Regions from separate parts of the Homo sapiens genome. Here all the other regions are linked to region 3. The links are contacts of gene promoters, found by promoter capture Hi-C in human tissues and cell types (Jung and others, 2019). All regions are on one chromosome and are shown on one strand. Each heading gives the region's core, a stretch centred on a gene start or on the middle of the fragment in contact. The rest is flanking DNA. Distances are from core to core; before and after follow the strand shown.

Region 1 (3,640 bases), core at 319-2,818, 49 kb after region 3:
AAGTTAATTTGATGAGTAAGTTAACCCAAACTAACTATTTAGATAAAATTACTTCAGGTTTAAATTTGGAGCTTAGTGGGTTTAGCCAAATAAACACATTATTATGACTTCATTATACTCAATGAAATGAGTATAGCCCCAACTGTCAAACCTTCATATAATGCACAGAAATTAAAGTGCTTGTTTTTACAAACATATGTAAAATATTTTTCACAAAACAGAATTTTTTATAAATTATTTTTGCAGCTAACTGAGTTATTCCTAGAAGCGATATTTGATTGTGCCTAATTCCCCAGCAGTGCTCATTAAAACCTCTTTAAAAATGCTTTAAGTAAGAAGCCACTAAGTAATTCTTTCTTCTTTAAAAATAAAAAAAACAGAAAGTTTCAAACAAGAAACAAATATATCATGTATACATGTATCATAACATTACATTGTACCCTACAATGTAATTTGTATTATTTGTCAATTAAACATAAAATTAAATTTTAAAAAATAATTTTAAACACTTAAAAAATCAAACAAGGAAAAAAATTAAATCACCATGATCTTTTTGCCTGGTTAATATCCATTGATATGAAAAGAAAAGTAGGAAACAAAATTAGCAACACATTCGGGCAGATAGCTGTTAAATTTAATTTTATTTATTTTGCCTATGTCTTTTCAAAATTCAGATCTATTTCTCTGCTTTTCCAGACTAGATATGGTGAACATAATTTGTCTATTTTTAAAGGATTTCCCTCTACTAATAACAGTATTTTGCTGCTGTCTGATGCAATGATGATTTCTAGGCCTTCTTAGATATATAAGGCTCTTTGCCCCTCCACTGAATGGCCTTAGACCGCTGGATTGGGTTTTGTGACTTGGCTCTGACCTCATTATTGACTCTCAGCTCCTGTCTGACAGTTACAGCAGGTATGATGAGGCATCTCCTCTCCTCCCCTCCCCAACACATCCAACACGCTCACTCTAAAGCGCTGTAGGCTTAGAACACACAATATGAAACTTGGGTTAAATATAAGCTGAGGGAGGGCTTGAGGGACTGTCCCAGTCACTATGACATTTTGTACAGAGCATGAGAGACTAGGATTCTACTTCCTGATTACCCCTTAATTCCCTGACTGAATTCCCTAATTCTCTTATTGAACTAATTTGCTTACTGAAATTCCCTAACTTTGCAGCCTCAACTTCAGCATCAGGATATAATGGGTTTTATTCAAGGATATTTAACATCTTCTCTAGCTTGAAGATTCCTGAAGCTATCTTTAAAACAAACTTGGTAAAATCCATTTTAGCTGCCCAAGTACAATTTCGGTTTTCTTTTTGACTCTCCAGAAAGCAAGAAGTTCCAAAAGAGTGAGATGGGAAGATAGCTCTGCTTCAAGACAGGTAAAATGTTAAGAGCATAGTTATTCGCAAAAGAAACATTTAGGTATTCATATGTTTATTATTTTAGAAAAATATCACTCCTTTTATTTTATGCTCACATACATATAAAATGTGGTGGGTATTATCTGTATAGGTGTATATATGGATATAAAATTATAAATAGGTACACATACACAAATATTTGTAGTATAGAATTAGAAACAGAAGCTTTAATTTTTCTGGCTATAGAAATAAACATCTACTTCTCTGAAAATTTTTGATTAAGTATAGGTAGACTTCAGGGTAACTCTAAGGATAGGCCAGCAGGGGTTCCAGACACTCCTGCGGGAAAACAAAATGGCTTCATAGATAATGCTCTATAATAATATAATTACCAAATGTACAATGACTGCCTGAGGAAATGAGCAGATGAGATTACAACATGTAAATTCAAGAAGTGCATAATCTAGGAGTCTGGCTCCTTTGACTTAGAAAAATAATAAAACACCACTGGGGAGGAAAGAAGACTAGAGATAAAGATTAAGTTGAGTTAGCAATCTGGTTAGGGACAAAGGATAAAGCAAAATTTGCTGTCCTTGTGGAAATATGGGTGTTGTGAATGACCCTCTGTAAAGGACTTTCAGAAATATTTGTTAAATGAATGTATCTATAAACTAGGAATTTGATCATACCTTAGGTTCGCCTTGAAAGGTTAGTTTGATTCAAATCCAGAGGAAACTTAGGATCCATAATTTAATAAAAATCTTATATGTGTTTGCAGTGAGAGAAAAACAATTATTAACACATAATTTTGAAAATCTACTTTGGGTTACCTCAAAACATAGTTAAAATAGACATACTTGTCAGTACACCTATGATGAGAAACCTGCTATACTTAGGGGACCTGTTTTAGAGAGTATAAGGATGAAAAACTAAATTCTATCTCTTTCATTTACTTCCTTGTATACCTGTGAGCAAGTGATTTCGCTTCCTTGAACCTCTTTTTAAAATAAATCCATAAACTGTAGATAAGAGAAGTGATGGAAGGATCCAATAAGCTAATGCATGTGAAACAATTTCATATACTATAAATATAAAAGTAAGACATTATTGACAAGGAGGCATGTAGAACTACAGTCAGGCTAATATAAAAGGGTCATGGGTGAAGGTGCTTAAAACCAAGCTGCAGATGAAATCTTAGATTAAGTGCATGAGAAAGTATCTATGCTTTTAAATTAATTTAGGCCTTAAGTTTATTATTGTGATGATCGAATGGTACAGTATTCATAGATACGTGAAGAACTCATTGCTACTCACCAATAGAACCTAGTCACAATTATTAATAGATGGAACAATAAAATGAAAACAAAAGATGATGGGAGACTGATGTAGGTTTGTCAACATGAGGGCATCGACAATGTTATAAGTTGCTATTATTTCATAAAAAGTAGTTTTTGACAATAAAAAGCTAGACTATTATAATCTCGTAATAAAGAACAGTCCTTTAAAAAAACACACTTGGCAATGTGACACCACCATCCATGACTGAATGGAAAGATATTTCTCAATACTTACTGTCCTTATTTTTCTCATACATTAAGAACCAATGAAAGCTTCATTATAGACCAGTTACTTGCATTGGCCTTTAAGAACCATTGGAAGATGAACAAAAGATAGCTTCTAAACTTCAAGGTGGGAAGTTCTGTTCATCTACATTTTATCAACAAATCCCAGCAATCACCTAACCTTGATAACTTTGGCTGGAGTATAACTACTCTTTCCCTTAATTTTGTAAGCAGAGACACCATAGTATTCTCCCTTTTGTTGCATACTGCAATCATCTTCTTGCTAGTTTAGATAGCTTTTGATCAACATCAAAGCCCTTTCCTCAAGGAGAAAAAAAGACCAATACCACTACTTCTACTGGAGCTTTCAGTGCATTACGACAAACTAAATGACATCTAGTTAAGATGTCATTTTAACAGCTTAACCATCTTAATGACGGAAGAATGTCTTATTTGTTCTTTAACATGTAGCACTAAGGAAATATATGTATTTAAAGCAATTATTATTTGTAAAAATTTTAATATTTTATCTTATTTGATACCACCAACTTATCAACCAAAAAAACCCTGAAAGCCACTGATTAACCTCTCTGGTGACTCTACTCACAGTTAAAACATGAAATACACCAGTAGAGAAAAAGGTGGTTTAACTAGTTTTTGAACACACTTTTAAAACATTTTATTCGCTTTAAAAAAAATCTGGGTAT
Region 2 (3,746 bases), core at 205-2,704, 50 kb before region 3:
TTACAACTTTCCCTCCAATTTCACAGACCCTCCCTTCCATCACTTCACAATAATTCACATTCTGCAACCCTCCTGATGCTCACTTCCATAAGAAAACTTCAGGTCTTTCTCAAGGTAAAGTGCCATGTTTATCATAGTATTTATGTATTTCTTAATCACGTAATATTTATATAAAAGAGTGCTGTTGTTTTTATTATATTCCTATCCTTTTAAGTGTCACAGACAAAGTTTCGGAGTGGTAAGCCCTGTGGTTTTAATGCACGGTTTTACACAGTGAGGTGATTTTTAGGAATGCACATATTGCATTATAGCAGAGCTTACTGTACTAAAATTACCATCTATGACCAAATAAAATCCATCCACTCTACTCCCAGTGAAAAGATTTTAAAATAATTTTTGGCCAACTACAATTTATAAATGTCAAGGATGGAGATGAGACTAAAAGATCTACTTATAATATTACATTTATTCATTTGGTTATACATTTATATTTAAAGTATTTATGTAAAATACAGTAGTAAAAAAACTTTAATCTAGAAATTGCTTTTTATCACTTTTACATTTTCAAAAAAACAACTGTATTCCAAGTTCACACATGCATAATTAACATCATCAGCACTAAATCCATATTTTGAGTCACTTAACACTGTTCTCTAGAGTACATCTTTACTTCTGTCTTAGATTTTTTTAGATTTAACACTTTTTGAATCCAAAAATTGGCTTAAAAATTTTTATCCAAATCACAGGAACCCATTTGCTATCCGAGATCTTTACTACATAATCAGTGTTATGGGCTCAATTAGGTCCCCCAAAATTCCTATGTTGAAGCCCTAACCCCTGTACCTTAGAATATGACTGTAGTTGGAGACAAAGCCTTTAAAGCAGTGACTAAAATAAAATGAGGCCCTTAGGGTGGGCACTAATCCAATCCAACTGGTTCCCTTATAAGAAGAGGAAATTTGGACACACTGAGAGACACCATGGATGTTCCCGGAGGAAAGACCATGTGGGGACAGAGAGAAGGTGGTTATCTGCAAGCCAAAGACAGAGGCATCAGGAGAAAACTAACCTGCTGACACCCTGATCTTGGAGTTGTAGCCTACAGAATGTGAGAAAATGAATTTCTGTTGTTTAAGCCACCCACTTTGTTGTATTTTCTTAAGACAGGCCTAGCAAACTAATATAATCAATAAATGTATTTCTTTATTGTTTACATTTCTTCCATTTTTGTTAAAAAATGTGCTCATATACAGATAAATTCATAAAACACATGTGTTCAGTTTAAAGAAAAGTAACACTGGGCTGGGTACGGTGGCTCACGCCTGTAATCCCAGCACTTTGGGAGGCCAAGGTGGGTGGATCACCTGAGGTCAGGAGTTCGAGACTAGCCTGGCCAACAGGCGAAACCCCGTCTCTACTAAAAAATAAAAATAAAAATAAAATAGCAGGGTACGGTGGTGCATGCCTATAATCACAGCTACTAGGCGGGGCTGAGGCAGGAGGATCACGTGAACCTGGCAGGTGGAGGTTGCAGTGAGCCGAGATCGTGCCACTGCACTCCAGCCTGGGCAACAGAGTGAGACTCTGTCTCAAAAAAATATATATATATAAAGAAGAAGAAGAAAAGTAACAGTATCCTCTCAAGAATTAGAACATCTGAAACCAAGTAGAGCCTCCTGTGTATTCCTTCCCCATTGCTGGCTCTCCCTCACCCCTACCCTAAAGGTAAAGGTTACTAACTCCTTCTTCATACATTTTGGATATTGCTATGTTTCAGCTGCATATTGCAAATATCTTCTCCTGCTCTGAAACTACCCTATTCACTCTCTTGATGGCACCTTTTTATAAACTAAAGTCTTAATTTTACGTAGTCCAATGTATCAATCTTTTCCTTTAGTGCTTTTTATATCCTATTTAAGAAATCTTTCCTGATGCTGAAGTAATAATGGCATTCTCCTATATTATCTTGTAAAGCCTTTTAAAAGCTTTGTTAAGTTTTGCCTTTCACATTTAGGTCACTAATTCACATAGAATTATTATTTAATTTTTTTGTGCACAGTGAAAGATAGGAATCTGAATTTACTTTTTGTATATGAATATTCAACTGTTCCGGAATGACTTATCTAAAAAGCTGTCATTTCTTCAGTGACCTGAGATCAAGTATCCATACATGCATGGGCTCTCTACTCTTGTTCCCTTGGTTTGTTTATCCCTGCAACGGTGACAAATGTCTTAGTTATTACGGCTTTGTAATAAGTCTCAATACCTGGTAGGCCATGTCATCCCATCTTACTCTTTTGCAAGAACGTCTTGATTATTCCAGATAATTTGTATTTGCATAAAAATTTTAAAGTTACATTTTCAAGTTACAACACATACTCATGCATACATTCACGTATAATATATTCTCTCCATTACCTTTCGTTAAGTTTCTTCTAAAGGACTTGCACTTTGTCAGATTTAATTCAGCAATTTCCTGTTTTTTGATTCTATTATAAATGGCATTTGCTATTAATTTCATTGTCTAAAGGTTTGTTTGTGAGCATATAAAAATAGATTTTTAAAAATATTGTTTCATAGTCACATTTTTTATACTTTCTTAAAAACCCAAAAGAATCTATAGATAAATCATTTATACAGTTACATCATCTATGTGTAATGACAGTTTTATTTCCTTCAGCAGTTGTACCTTTTCTTTCTTTCTCTTGTCTTACTGCACTGGCTAGAATTTCTAGTAGTATATTTAAGAATAATAATGGTGATAGTGGGGGCATCAATGCCTTGTCTCCAACCTGGAGGGAAGAAGTCAACATTTCATCTTAGCATGCTATAGTTGGTTGATTTTGTGTGTTTTTTTTTTAAGGGGGTCGGGAAGAAAGACCATTTATCTGATTATGAAAGTTCTCCTAAGTTCTAGTTTACTAAGAGTGTGTAACCTGAATGAATCCTGAATTTTATCTTTGTCTTCATACACTGAGATGCTCTATTTGAATTTTTTTTCTAATCTGTTAATGTGATAAAATATACTGACTTATTTTCTAGTGCAAAAACCACCTTTCATTCCTAGGATAAACTCAATTTGATCAGGTTGCTTATATATAACCACATTACATACTATATACAACTGGTGGGAGTTTATATATATACACACATACATATGTATACACACACACACACACACATATATATATATATTTACTTTGCTTTAGTCTGTAGAAATTGCTAAGCTGTTTCTTTATTTCATAGGAAAAAACAAACACAAAGAATACCATGAGGCTCATATAAACAGAGCAAGGTAGGAAAGTCGGTTCTACTGCATGTATTCTCGACAGGGCAAGTTTTGCTCCCAAGTGGGAGAAAACTGGTTCTTAGAGGGAGAAAAAAAGTCTTAGCTATCACTATGGTTTGTGGCTCTACACAATCTTATCTGACAAAATCTTTTTTCTTAGTATTTAACTTCACAGGGGTGGTGAGAGGAGAAAATTTCCATAGGAGGAAAATGGGAATTTAAAAAAAGGTTAAAAACTACTGTTCTACTAGATAACATTTCTTATAAAACCACAGTTGTAATGACAGTGTGGTATTGTCTCTCCACAAGGAGAGACAAATAGATCAACAGACTAGAAAAGAAACAGAAACAGACACACACACATATGAATCATGATTAGGAGAAAGATGGCACTACAGAGTGGAGGGGAAAGAATTATCTTTTCAATAAATGGTGCTAAATCAATTGACTATTCATC
Region 3 (3,515 bases), core at 1-2,500:
AATCTAAAGAGTTGGAAGAATTTAATATTACACCAAAAGCCTTTTAATCCAGGAATGGCGCATACTAAGCAGTCATCAAATGGTGACTGTTATTAATATTATTCTTACCACAAGGAAAGCAGTGAATTTTTAAAAGTGCATATATTAGCATAGTAGGCTGAGGACCTATTTAACACATCTTTTTAAATTGCACTTAATTATCCTTAGTCGCCTTTGGACTGTAACTTTACAATATAATTTATGACCCGCCCACAATGACCTTGATTTTTTTTTCTCTTCTACTTTTAGAGACTGCTATATTGCAATATTTTAAAGTAATAATTGGTCATGTCCTCTCAGCCCTGGTGATACAGACATCCACCCTGACTCTCAAGGGATCTTAAAATGTGACCCACATATAGCTTGAAAAAGACCGTAACTTAAATGGACTCTGCAGTTACAATCCAGCGACCTGTTACAGTGAACAGTAACAAGTGCAAACTGCTGCCATCCATAAGCCATTTTCCGAAAACCTCTTTGGATCAAGAGGAGAGGAGTGAGAAGGTCAATAAAGGAGCAAACTGTTTGTCCTCTCTGCAGCTTCACACCAGAAGTCTGGAATGAATGAAAAGCTCTGGAATAGCACAGAGAAACCCGGGATCCCAGTGCAGGTCTCCAGACGGGGGTGCGGGGAGAGAAACTGTAGTTTACAAGCGAGAAACTCAGGATACAGATTTAAAATAAATAAATAAATAACTAGCCAACATCGTCTCGACTAGAGCAGGAACCCCCCACCCCCAGTTGAGGGAGGAGCACTTAGCAAGGGGCTGTAGCTCTAGCAGAAGACGCTCTGAAAAAGGCCAGGCCTGGGGCGGGGAGGCACCGAGAAACCCCCGGGTTCCAAACAGAGCAGGTGCAGGGGGCGTGCAGGAACAGGTGAGGGCGTCCCGGCGCGGAGGAGCGGCGGGCGGGCCCGGCAGAGCGGAGCGGGGGCCGGGGATGGGGGTGGGGGTGCGGATGGGGATGGGGGTGGGGGCGGCCGCTTCGCCCCCGCGCCTGCACACTCACCGTCGCCGCTGGCTCGCCTCTCGCTGCCGCCGCTCTCCCGACCGCCAGCAGCTCTTTCCCCTCCTCCTGCCGCGCCACCTCCGCCTCCTCCGGCGCCGCCGCCCAGGCCGGGCCGCTCTCCCCTTCCGCTTCCGGGAGCCTGAGGGCCTGGACCGGCCGAGTGGGTGTCCGCATGCCCGCGCGCCCGCGTGGGGAGGGACGACTGCCGCCGTCGCCGTCTCGCTTAGCTCCCGGGAGCCGCGATGGGAGCCGCTGAGGGCCGAAACTCCTGCAATCGCGCCGCAGCCCCAGAGCCGCGGACCCAGGCAGACCGCACTCTCCAGAGCGCTTGCACCTGGCGCGCCTGGGCGCCTCTGCCCCTCCCCAGCCCTACTTGAGCCGTCCTTCTCATTGTCCCCATATCCTCACTGCTCACCTCTCCCGAGAGACAGGATGGGGGCCTTAGCTTAAAAGATTGCATGTATCCTTTCTTCGGGGGATGTGGCCAGCAGGCCTCTCTCCCCGCAGGTGTTCTGGGATGTCCCATGGTACCTTGCTTCAAAGCGCGGTCTGCAGCATCAGCATCCTCTGGGAACTCACAATCTTTGAAATGCACAATTTCAGGCCTGCTGAATCAGTACATGCACTTCAGCAAGATCACCAGGTGACTCCTGGGGTGCACCGTAAAGATGGAAAAGCATTGCACTGTAGTGCATGGTCTCGTCCACTTCAGACCCTCTATTGGGTTGCCTCAGACATCCCAGGATATTTCCTGTTCCTGTCCTCAACCTAAATCCACACCCAAACAATCTTTTCTTATATTTTGGGAGACCTCCAAAAGTTTCCTGCTTTCCCATCCCTGCAAAAGCCGACAACTTTTGGACTCAGCGATGCAAGTAATCCACCTCTCAGTCTAACTTGGTATCTTCACCAAACACCAGAGATCTACTAACTTTCCCACCTCACTCCGGCTGAACAGTATTTGGGGAAGGTTAAACCGTTTGCAGTAATGTGGAGCTAGATCTTTCTGCCCACGTGCCACAGGAGGAGACAGTGTGTTGGTGGAAGAAATATTACCTGTTGTATAAAATCTGTATTCCTTATAAGATGTGCTTAAAAGCCCTCCACAGACACATCCCTACCTACCTCTCCAGTCTTAGCTCCAACTAATTTGGTTCATTTCCCCATTCTAGAATGCCCTGCTCTCTGATGATCTTAACCCTATCCAGATTTGAGAGTGGAAATCTTGCCAAACCAGAGTTCTCTCACCACTGCCCTTATATAGTGCACATTGTTGCCTGTTTGGGGCCTCATATTACCTTGTATTGCTAAGGATTTTTAAACATGTTGTGTCCTGGTTTCTGAACTAATTATAAACACCTTGTGACCTTAAAAACTTTGGTCAGTGGTTATCAAAGTGGGATCCCTAGACCAGCAGCATCGGTATCACCTGTCAACTTGTGAGAAATCCATATTCTTTTGCCCCATCCCAGATCTACTGTAGTAGAAACTGTTTAGGTGTAGCCCAGCAATCCGTGATGTAACAAGCCTTTTAGGTGATCCTAATACACACTCAAGTTTTAGAATTACTGACCTAGATTACTAGATATTCCCAAAAGAACCCAGTGGTAGGAATTGATTTACCCATAAGCAGATTTTATTGCCTTTCAGGTTAACAAATACACTCCCCGATATATGCATAGCGAGGTTGAAAGACTAGTCACGATTGCTTTTGATAGAATTACCTTTATTTTTCATAAATCATTTGATGTAGTAGGATTTTTGTAACTTTCTCTGTTTGAAAAGAAGGAGATATTTCATATAAACAATCACTTTGAAGGAAGAGGAAATGTGGAATCCTCCCACCGGAATCCAGCTACCTGATTGCGTATTCAATGTGAATCCCTTCTACCCAAATCCAGCTACCTGATTGCATATTAAATGTGGACTCCTCCCTACCCGAATCCAGCTACCAGAATTGCATATTAAATGTAAAATCCCCCCCCCACCCAAATCCAGCTACCCAATTGCATATTAAAAGTAGAATCCCCTCCACCTGAATCCAGCTACATGAATTGCATATTATTTTGCTTTCTCTTCAGATACCCCTGTGAGAGGGAATAATTTGTGACAAGTGATCTCAAAACTGCCAAAATAAGAATTAGTTGACAGGTCCATGATTGCACATGACAATTGGAAGTGCATGGATTTTTCAGTCCCTTTTTAAAATAAGTTAGCCTGTCTTTTATCAGCCAAATCAATTCCACAGAGAATTTTTAAGCAAGGGAATAGGAGAGAAGAGGCAGGAGAAACATCCTTAAAAACATGAACCTTTTTAGCATGGGCATTTCATGAGTATAATCAAAGGCCTGCCTATCCCTTACACTGAAGGTCAAGTCATCTGGTTCTATCATTCATGCTAATCATTGGTTATATTGTATTGCAACCCATACATTCAGGCACCTGGGTAACAATAAGGGGGTGAGGGA

What was found. The method cuts DNA at HindIII sites, captures the fragments that hold promoters and counts their contacts. A contact is called where the count stands out against the background at its distance.
Region 1: a fragment that was not itself captured here is called in contact with the fragment with the promoter of ZDHHC21 in region 3 in 1 of the 25 tissues and cell types used here (adrenal gland).
Region 2: a fragment that was not itself captured here is called in contact with the fragment with the promoter of ZDHHC21 in region 3 in 3 of the 25 tissues and cell types used here (liver, lymphoblastoid cells and pancreas).

Annotation. Positions count from the first base shown.
Region 1 is chr9:14,740,617-14,744,256 of GRCh38, forward strand. All of the region lies in intron 35 of FREM1 (FRAS1 related extracellular matrix 1), which reads right to left. Among named protein-coding and RNA genes, the nearest start is that of CER1, 20 kb to the left of the region's middle. The HindIII fragment of the contact is 3,947 bases long and covers 1-3,542 here.
Region 2 is chr9:14,641,657-14,645,402 of GRCh38, forward strand. The region is part of intron 7 of ZDHHC21 (zDHHC palmitoyltransferase 21); the gene reads right to left. Among named protein-coding and RNA genes, the nearest start is that of ZDHHC21, 50 kb to the right of the region's middle. The HindIII fragment of the contact is 6,948 bases long and covers 1-3,746 here.
Region 3 is chr9:14,692,182-14,695,696 of GRCh38, forward strand. ZDHHC21 (zDHHC palmitoyltransferase 21) reads right to left here and starts at 1,251. Exons shown (of 10, transcript NM_178566.6): 1 at 1,048-1,251. RefSeq lists silencers at 893-1,032, 1,113-1,182 and an enhancer at 1,256-1,756. The HindIII fragment of the contact is 8,706 bases long and covers 1-3,515 here.